Linked DNA regions of Homo sapiens: all the other regions are linked to region 1. Evidence: promoter capture Hi-C in 16 types of primary human blood cells and fetal thymus (Javierre and others, 2016). All regions are on one chromosome and are shown on one strand. Each heading gives the region's core, a stretch centred on a gene start or on the middle of the fragment in contact. The rest is flanking DNA. Distances are from core to core; before and after follow the strand shown.

The links. The method cuts DNA at HindIII sites, captures the fragments that hold promoters and counts their contacts. A CHiCAGO score of 5 or more calls a contact.
Region 2: a contact is called between a fragment that was not itself captured here and the fragment with the promoter of TENT5C-DT in region 1, in 8 of 17 cell types (naive B cells, total B cells, naive CD4 T cells and 5 more). The highest score is 15.2, in naive B cells.
Region 3: a fragment that was not itself captured here is called in contact with the fragment with the promoter of TENT5C-DT in region 1 in 2 of 17 cell types (naive B cells and total B cells); the score reaches 7.2 in naive B cells.

The regions. Positions count from the first base shown.
Region 1 is chr1:117,604,126-117,607,750 of GRCh38, forward strand. TENT5C-DT (TENT5C divergent transcript) reads right to left here and starts at 1,645. Exons shown (of 3, transcript NR_121626.1): 1 at 1,521-1,645; 2 at 664-811. It overlaps TENT5C (terminal nucleotidyltransferase 5C), which reads left to right and starts at 1,923. Exons shown (of 2, transcript NM_017709.4): 1 at 1,923-2,028. RefSeq lists enhancers at 737-1,237, 1,238-1,738 and a silencer at 1,649-1,988. The HindIII fragment of the contact is 6,964 bases long and covers 1-3,307 here.
Region 2 is chr1:117,748,418-117,751,738 of GRCh38, forward strand. No RefSeq gene overlaps it. Among named protein-coding and RNA genes, the nearest start is that of TENT5C, 140 kb to the left of the region's middle. The HindIII fragment of the contact is 2,775 bases long and covers 1-2,729 here.
Region 3 is chr1:117,769,039-117,772,279 of GRCh38, forward strand. No RefSeq gene overlaps it. Among named protein-coding and RNA genes, the nearest start is that of GDAP2, 160 kb to the right of the region's middle. The HindIII fragment of the contact is 982 bases long and covers 1,304-2,285 here.

The sequences.
Region 1 (3,625 bases), core at 395-2,894:
AAAGTTTAATATGTGAACACTCTATGAACCAGGAATCCAATCCTAGGTATATATATATATCCAACATAAATGAATGCTATGTCCACCAAAAGACATGTGTAAGAATGTCTGCAGCAGCTTCATCAAAGGCAGAAACATGAAGCAACTCAAATGTCCACCAACAGTAGGATGAGTACACAAATCGTTGAATATTTATATAATGAAGTAATACACAGTAGTGAAAAAGAATGGACCATTGTTACACACAACAATATGGATGAATCTCATAGACGCACTGTTGGGCAAGAGAAGCCAGACATAAAATTGTACGTGTTATGTATTTCATCCATAGCAAGTTCAAATATTGGTAAAACTAATCTATGGTGATAGAGGTTAAAATAGTGGTAATCCTTGTCGGATACTGAATGGGAAGGGGCATGAATGAGCTGGAAAGGTTCCACATCTTGATATGGATGGCAGTTACATGGGTATGCATATGTAAAAAATTATCATTCTGGACACTTTTGATTTGTGCGCTTTACTGAATGTTATACCTCAAAAACAAAAAGTAAAACAAAAAATCAGATCATATGTCTTGATTTCGCGTCTAACAATAGGATCACTGGCTTTCCCTATAAACACTCATATTGATGTCCTATCGCATTAAAGTTCCTGGATACTCACTCTCCTCTCCCTCGCTGGGAAAGACATATTTGAGAACTCTTCATAGTCTGACAGACAGGAGAACCACACTTATTTCAGGCAGGGTTGGAAGAGTAGGGCGGAGGAGATGTAAATACTGCATCTGGGAAGTAATCTTTTCCCCCAGCACCTAGTAAACGATCAATACAAGTACAATAATGTCTATTGATAAATAACATTGTCCAACATTGGCTACTATCTGATACATACAGCATTTGCCACACACTTTCTAACAGGCACTAGGCAATGCACTAATTGTTTCCCACGTATTTTCTTAATACTTATATAATTCTACAGAGCTGTCCCATTGTTAGTCTTGTCCTACAGATAGGAGACGCAGGTTGTTGGAGGGTTGGTTCAGTTACTTGCCTAAGGCCTTACAGAAAGTTTAAGTGGTGCATGGAGATCTCAACTCAGATTAGTCTGAATTCAGAACCTGGGCTGTAAACCACTCGCTATGTTATGAATGGATGGTGTCCAAGCCCTGCCTGCATGTTATATAACACACTGGACCAAGTGCTGTGGCATTCCGAATGGGGCCGAAGCGGCTGCGGCTGCCGACATTGGCGATGGACTCCCCGAGGCCCTTCGTCCCACTAACTGCACACAGGTGGTCCCCGGGGCCAGAGAGCCGCCGGCGCTCTCTCCCCGAAGACCACGCCTTCGCCTCCAGCCAGTTTGCTTGGGGAATCAGAAAGGTGCCCAGGGCCCAGAAACCATTAAGTTTTTTCCGACTTCAAAAACACACACCGGAGGTAGGCGTGGGCGTTACCCGCCTCACTCCTGGGGGCAGGGAGAACCAACGCGAAAATCCCCAGAGAGGCGGAAGAAAAACCTGCCTGCGAGAGAATAGGATGGAGATGGGAAAAGCCTGGGGAAGAGAGAGTTATGCGGCAGGAATAGCAGAAAAGCGTACTAAGCAAAAAGAAAGGTGTCCCACTAACTCCGAAGTTAAGTGGGTGTCGACGCAGCCCCCTCTATTGCGCTTGCGCAGTGCTGCCTCCCTGAGCACCCCGCCCCTTCCCGCCGCTGAGGATTTACTCGTCTCTTGGCAACCATTCACCCGAAGAGCCAATCAGAGGGCAGCCCTCGCCCCGCCCCTGCCGTCAGGGCCGGGCGGAAGGGTCCCGAGGGGACTGGCTCCGCCACGCCCCGCCCCTGGCTCCCCCGGGAGGGCGGCTCAGGGGCGGGGACGGGGGCGTGGTCCCGCCGTATAAGAACGGAGGGGGCGGCGGCGGGACGGCTCACTCGGTGCCGCTGCCTAGGGGCTGTAGAGGTCGCGCCGCTCCTGCTGGGGCCTGCCCACGCCAAGGACCTGCCTCTGTCGCCTCCTCTTCTATTGCCCAGGTGAGTCCGCGACCCCCCTCCTCTAAAGGTGCGGCGATGCGGCAGCAGCCCCAGGGAGCCGCGAGCTCACTTAGTGGGGGTCCGCCCCCACTAAGTGGTGCTCAGGTCTTTGCCCAGCCTGGTAGGGGGCAGGCGGACCCGAGGGGAGCTGCGGACAGGTGCCGAGACCCGGTGCTCCTTTCCCCTCCTGCTCCCTCGAGGACCCCCGCCCCTGACACACCCGTCCCAAAGGGCCAGAAGAGACGCTCCGAAAGGGAGCTACAACTTTCCAGAGACCTGGGGCTTGGCAAACTCCAGCGAGTTCCTGCTCCGCGCGTCCTGCAGGCTGCGCGCTGGCCAGGCGCGGGCAGGGCGTCTGAAGAGTGTGTGATCGGCGCCTCCGCTCCTACCTGGATCAGACGGCGCCCCCCGCCACCCATGCCTCCCTTCCTGGCTTGCAGTCCCTCGGGCTCGCCCCGGCGCTCCCGCGGGCGCGCACACCTTCGCCGGCCCGCCGAGTGTGAATTCGAATTCGGCGGTTTCACTAGGCGCAGCTGGAGACGCAGCGGTCCGGGGCTTGGATCTGGTTGGGGAGGGGAGGGGCGCTTCCTAGGCTCATTGCCAAGTCCTGAGTTTTAAGGAGAAGGGCGGAGATCCTTAAATTTAATGCGCTCACATCAGACTGTGGACACCATGAGCAGCAAAGGGATCCAAGCCAGTGACTTGTGCGCTGCGCGTCTCTCAGAAACTTCTTGGGAATGCGGTGTCTGTGAAACCTGCTTCCTCTCCTTTTGAAAATGAAACTTGCTTTACTGCGTAGGTGAAAAGCCACGGCAAGTGGGTCGACTCGGACGGATACCGGTGCGGCTGCCCCGGGAGGTGTCGCAGTTCGGGGACTCCCTTCGCACTGGTCGCGAGGCAGGAGGGAGCAGGGTGGGAGGCGAGTCAGAGGAGGGTGACTTACCTGAAGAATACAGGTTGGTAGCCTGCACACCTGAACTCAACGCTGGCGGGCGAGAAAACCAAGCAGCGCTACCTCCAAGTAAGGGCGCTCCCCTGGAGAAATGAATGCCTGGCGAGCTTCTGGAGAACCCACTATTAGGGCTGGACCCTGCGGGAGGGATAGTGTCAGCTCCCTTCCCCTTCGCCCTTTTTTGTCCATAGGTAGGCTTTTGTAGGGCTCTAACCAGTTCCCTGGCTTAATTAAGTAGGGGCCTGCTTCCTTTTTAACATTTTTGCTTTCTTACGGAGATATAAAGTGCATACAAATGAAGTGCTTAAAATGCACTTATAGTAAGAAAGCTTTTATAAATACTATGTGCATAATTATTTGTATTGTGACAACTTGGTCTTCAGGTTACTTTGTAGGTGGGTTAGGAGACTGAACCAGCCCAGGAAATAAAGTTAGGGTGATTAGATCCTCCCAAAGTACACTTCTGGCTGGCTCAGCTGCCCTCTGCGTGCAGGAAAGAGGGTGACCGTTGTTGGCGACAGCAACCTTTCAACGTGAGTAAATTGGCAAGGAAATGAGCCCAGGAAGTAAGTTGGGCAGCCGCAAGAGTGGTAGGAGAGCTTACCCAGAATTTTACTGTCTTAAATCCCCAAGGGTATTATTGAG
Region 2 (3,321 bases), core at 92-2,591, 140 kb after region 1:
ATGTTGAATTGTAATCCCCAATGTTGGAGGTGGGGCCTGGTGGGAGGTGATTGGATCATAGGGGTGGATTTCTCATGAATGGTTTGACACTATCCCCCTTAGTACTGTCCTCACAATAGTCAGTGAGTTCTCATGAGATCTGGTTGTTTAAAAGTGTGTAGCATCTTCCCCCTACTTGCTCTTTCTCCCACCATGTGAGATGCCTTGCTCTCCCTTTGCCTTCCACCATGATTTTAAGTTTCCTGAGGCCTCCCCGAAAACTGAGCAGATGCCAGCATCATGCTTCCTGTACAGCCTGCAAAACCTTGAGTCAAGTAAACCTCTTTTCTTTATTAATTACCCAGCCTCAGGTCTTTCTGTGTAGCAATGTGAGAACGGTCTAATACTCCATTCATTTTCTCCCACCTCCACATCTTACTCCCCTGAAACTACTCTTGCGGGCCAGACGTGGTGGCTCACACCTGTAATCACAGCACTTTGGGAGGCCAAGGCGGGTGGATCACAAGGTCAGGAGTTTGAGACCAGCCTGGCCAACGTGGTGAAACCCCATCTCTACTAAAAATACAAAAAATTAGCTGGACGTGGTGGCAGGCACCTGTAATTCCAGCTACTCAAGAGGCTGAGGCAGGAGAATCACTTGAATCCTGGAGGTGGAGGTTACAGTGAGCTGAGACTGTGCCATTGCACTCCAGCGTGAGCAACAGAGTGAGACTCCATCTCGAAGAAAAAGAAAGAAAGAAAGAAAGAAAGAAAGAAAGAAAGAAAGAAAGAAAGAAAGAAAGAAAAGAAAGAAAGAAACTACTCTTGTGGAGGTTATCAATGACCTCTAGGTTGCTAAGTTCAACAGACACTTGAAAATGATAGTTTTGTTTGATCTCAGTTGCATTTGACATCATTGATCACCTCTATTATTAAATATTCTCTTCTTGGCTTTCCAATACCAAACTCTGATTCTATAGTCTCTGATTGCTTCTTCCCAGATATTTTTTGCTTAACATTTATCTTTATCTTAAATGTTGAAGCTCCCTAGGGATCCATCCTGGGTTTCTTCTTTTATGCTACACCATTCTTAATTGAGATTATCCATTCCATGTCTCTATATTGACATCAGTTGATCATACACACACACGCGTGCGCGCACACACACATATATACACATCTGCCAACTTCACATTTTGTTTAGATGTCTCATAGACATCTCAAACTTAACATGGTCAAAATTTCTTCCTCAAATGGAATTCTCCTATTGTCTCCCCACCTCAGTAAATGGAACCTTCATCCACTCAGTTACTTGTAAATCTGGGTATCGTCTTATCTCCTTCTTCTCTTTCATCCCCCACATCCAATCTATTACCAAGTATTATTTATTAAAACATCGAGATATATCTCATATGCACCTTCCTCTTCATGTCTGTTTAGTTTAAACCACCATTCTTTCTTGCCTACCCTATAGCCATAGCCTTCTAACCAGTGTCCTTTAACTTTTTATTTTCTCAAAATCCCTTTAACAAACAAGTTTAAAGTGATAGTTTAAGATTACAAACCAGATCATGTTGTTCCTCAGTATAAGACTCTTCAATGATCTCCCACTGCACTAGGAGTAAAATCCCAAACCTTAGTATGGCCTGCGAGAACCTTCCTGCTATGACTTCTTCCTTCTCTGCCAGCTTTACCTGTGCTGCTCATCTCCTCACTCGCTGTCCTCTAGTCACTTGAGCCTTCTTACAGTCCTCTGAGAGGTCCAGTTTTTCCTGCCTAAAATCTTTGCACTTATAAACTCCAAGAGGGCAGGGACTGTATCTTCTTGCGCTCAATTATATATCCATGTTCAGGCATGTGTAAGTACTCAATAAATACATGCTACATAAATGAATGATTTTTTTAAGTTTAGAATGTTCTTCCCCAACCTGGCTAAATCCTGTTGTTCTTTTAGGTCTCATGTTATTTTAAATGTCACTTCCTCAAACAAGTCTTTTGCCTCCCCTCACCTCATCCTACCCTTCCTTCTTTAAGGAACCACCATTCCTAGCTATGGGGATAGGAACTGATTTGGAGTGGGCCAAGTTCAAGTATCCTATTCCTATGATTCATCTAATTCTTCTCTGATTTTCCTACCAGAAGATGAAAAGGAAGACACTTTTGTCCTTGGACCAGAGAGCCACTCAGCTATGAAACATGTTCTCTGATGTGTGGAGAAAGTTTGTCTGCAGTAGGAGAGAATGAGGCCAACTCAGAGAGTCATGGAGGGGAGAAACGGGGGGAGAGAGAGAGTTCTGACAGTGTGCCAGTCTCTGAATCTTATCCATTTTTTTTTCTCTCTCTCTCTTTTTCTTTTTCTTTTTTTTTTAATTTGAGACAGTCTGTCGCCTAGGCTGGAGTGCAGTGGCGCAATCTCTACTCACTGCAACCTCAGCCTCCCGGGTTCAAGCAATTCTCCTACCTCAGCCTCCTGAGTAGCTGGGATTACAGTAGTGCACCACCACACCCTGCTAATTTTTGTGTTTGTAGTGGAGATGAGGTTTCACCGTGTTGGCCAGGCTGGTCTAGGCTCCTGACCTCAAGCGATCCGCCCACCTTGGCCTCCCAAAGTGTTGGGATTACAAGCGTGAGCCCCTGCACCTGGCCTTATCATCCACTCTTGCCGCCTTCTCAAAGCTGGGATTGCCACCTCTTCTTTGCTTCTATGAACCACAGCAATATCTTTTCAATACATTCTTTCTTTTTGCTTAAGCTTGTTCAGATTGGGTTTCTGTTATTTGTAATTGAAAGATTTCCGGACTAATATACATTCCTTGACCTCCCAATATAAATCAGTTCCTCTTGTCATAGTCCTTAAAATGCTCTATGCTTTTCCTTCATAACACTTATCAGAACTTATGTTTGTATATTCATTCACTGAACATCTATCTCCTCATAGATGTTAGACACCGTGTGTATTTTGTTCACTACTCTTTATCTGGCTCACAGTGTAGTGCTTTACCCATGGCAAGCACTCAATATATGTTTGCTGAATTGATGAGTAAATAAATGACCCTGTAGTTGACTAGATATGAAGAGGGGGCAAAAAAGGGAGGAGGCTTAGGATGACTTCACATTTTTCTGGCTTTGCCAAGAGAAGGGGGAATGATATCATTGACTTGTATTGGGAACATATGCGGAGAAGCCAGTGTTGGAGAGAAAGAACATGAGCTAAGTTTTAGAGGTGAGTTTAGGGTGCTTATGGTATATAAAGTGTAGCTTTCCAGCAAATAGGGGGTCCATCTGTATCCAGCTTAGAAGAGGACTAGGCTGGAGATCTGATTTGGAAGGCCTTAGATAATA
Region 3 (3,241 bases), core at 545-3,044, 170 kb after region 1:
GAGGTGCTCTGGTTTTTAGAATTTTCATCTTTTCTGCTCTGGTTTCTCCCCATCTTTGTGGTTTTATCTACCTTTGGTCTTTGATGTTGGTGACCTACAGAAGGGGTTTTGGTGTGGATGTCCTTTTTGTTGATGTTGATGCTATTCCTTTCTGTTTGTTAGTTTTCCTTCTAACAGGTCCCTCAGCTGCAGGTCTGTTGGAGTTTCCTGGAGGTCCACTCCAGACTCTGTTTTCCTGGGTATCACCAGCGGAGGCTGCAGAACAGCAAATATTGCTGCCTGATCCTTCCTCTGGAAGCTTCATCCCAAATGGGCACCCACCTGTATGAGTTGTCTGTTGGTCCCTACTGGGAGGTGTTTCCCAGTTACACTACACGGGGTCAGGCACCCACTTGAGTAGGCAGCCTGTCCATTCTCAGAGCTCAAATGCTCTGCTGGGAGAACCACTGCTCTCTTCAGAGCTGTCAGACAGGGAGGTTTAAGTCTGCAGAAGTTTCTGCTGACTTTTGTTCAGCTATGCCCTGCCCACTGAGGTGAAGTCTATAGAAGCAGTAGGCCTTGCAGAGCTGCAGTGGGCTCCACCCAGTTCAAGCTTCCCAACTACTTTGTTTACCTACTCAAGCCTCAGCAATGGCAGATGCCCCTCCCCCCACCTGGCTACAGCCTGGCAGGTTGATCTCAGGCTGCTGCACTAGCCGTGAGCAAGGCTCCATGGGTGTGGGACCCACTGAGCCAGGCATGAGAATCTCCTGGTCTGCTGGTTGCTAAGACTGTGGGAAAACGGCAGTATTTGGGTGGAAGTGTCCTGTTTTTCCAGGTACAGTCTGTCATAGCTTCCCTTGGCTAGGAAAGGGAAATCCCCTCACCCTTGCACTTCCTGGGTGAGGCAATGCCCTGCCCTGCTTCGGCTCGCCCTCTGTGGGTTGCACCCACTGTCCAACCAGTCCCAGTGAGATGAACCAGGTACCTCAGTTGGAAATGCAGAAATCACCTGTCTTCTGTGTTTATCATGTTGGGAGCTGCAGACTGGAGCTGTTCCTATTCAGCCATCTTGGAATGGAGTCCTACATCTTTTGAATGAAGAATTTAATCTACTCACTTTTAGAGTAATTATTAAGCAAGGACTTACCATTGCCATTTTGTTAATTGTTTTCTGACTGTTTTGCAGTTCTCTTGTTCCTTTTTTTCTTTCTTGCTGTCTTCCTTTGAGATTTGATAATGTATATCTAGTGGTGCACTTTGATTCTTTCCTCTTTATCCTTTGTGTATTGACTACAGATTTTTTTCCTTGTGATTATCATGAAGCTTACATAAAACATCTCATAGTTACAATAGTATATTTTAACTGGATAACAACTTAATTTCAATTGAATACAAAAACTCCACATTTTTACTCCCCCCAAACATTTTATGTTATTGAAGTAACAGATTCCATCTTATTATATTATGTGTTCATTAACAAATCATTGTAGATATAGTGATTTTGATACTTTTTTCGTTTAACTTTTATACTAGAGTTAAAGGTGTACTACTATTACAATATTACAATATTCTGAAAATGACTATATACTTCCCTTTACCAGTGAATTGTGTACTTTCATGTTGATAATGTCCTTTCATTTAAACTTGAAGAACTCCCTTTAGGATTTCTTGTAAGTCATGTCTAGTGGTGATTAATTCCCTCAGCTTTTGTTTGTCTGGGAAAGTCTTTATCTCTCATTTCTTAAGGATAGCTTTGCTACATATGATATTCTTGATTGGCAGTATTTTTTTCTTTCAACACTTACAATATATTATTCCAATATTTTCTGGCATGCAAGGATTCTGCTAGGAAATCTTCTGATAGTTTTATGGTGGTTCCCTTATGGTTGATAAGTCATTTCCAATTAATTAGTCCATCCCTCCCTCCCACTTTCCTTCCTTCCTATCTTCCTTCCTTCCTCTTGACTTTTGACAGTTTGATTACAATGTGGTTCAGTAAAGACCTCTTGATGTTCAGTCTATTTGAGGTTCTCTAGGCATCATGATCTGGATATTCATTTCCCCAAACATGGAAAGTTTTCTGTCATTATGTCTAAATATTTTTCTTCTACTTTCTCATTCTCTAATCCTTCTGGGACTCACATAATGTGTATATTGGTTTGCCTGATGGTGTCTCAGAGGTCGTGTAGACATTCCTCACTCTTTTTCATTCCTTTTTCTTTTCATTCCTCTAATTGAATAATTTCAAATGACCTGTCTTTAAGGTACTGATTCTTTCTTTTGCATGAGAGAGTCTACTGTTAAGCTTTCTATTGAATTTTTTAGTTCAGTCATTGTACTCTTCAGCTCCAGCATTTCTGTTTGGTTCTTTTTTATGGTTTCTATTTCTTTGTTAAGCTTCTAATTTTGCTCATGTATTTTTTTTTTATTTTTGTTTAGTCATCTATCTGTGTTCTCTTGCAGCTCTTTCAGCTTCTTTAAGATTACTTTTAATTTTTTGTCAAAGATTTCATGGGTCTCCATTTCTTTATGGTTTATTACTGGCACTTTATTAGTTTCCTTTGCTGCAGTCATGTTTGCCTAATTCATCATGATCTGTGTAGTCTTGCATTGGTGTCTATGCATTTGAAGAAGACACTTATTCCTGTCTTTATAAAACTGATTTCAGTAGGTAAAGATTTTTTCCTGCCGTGTTCCTGGATGAACTAACTCCAGGATTGTAGTTAGGTGGGGCTAGAGCCAGGTCTCATGGCTGTTTCCAGATTCACTGTCAGGTCTGTGGTTGGCAAGCCTGGTTACCAGGAACATGTTGAGGTATGGCTTCTTTGAGTCTCTAAATATGCTCCTGTTAGGTAGCTGGGCTGGTCTCTGGGTGATCAGGACTTCCTCTGAACTTCAGTAGAATGGAATTGAAGCCAGGTCACAGGACTGCTTCAGTAACCACAGTTGGATCCAAAGTTGTCAGGTCTGTTACCTGGTTGTTTTTTGGTGTGGCTTCCATTAGGTTCCTGAGCAGGTCTCTGGGTGGGCAAGACTGCCATGGACAATGATAGAGTGGGCTGAAGCCAGGTCATTTAACTGCTCCAGGGACTACAATCAGGTTCAAGTTTGGCAGGCTTGTTATGGGGAGCATGAATGGATGTGACTTCTCCTGGGTCCCTTGGTGGAAGGGGCTGGTGTCAGGACTGTGAACAAGGGGGGCTGGAGCTGAGTTCATAGAGGGATGGAGCTCCTTCAGCCCACAGCTGGAACTATGGCC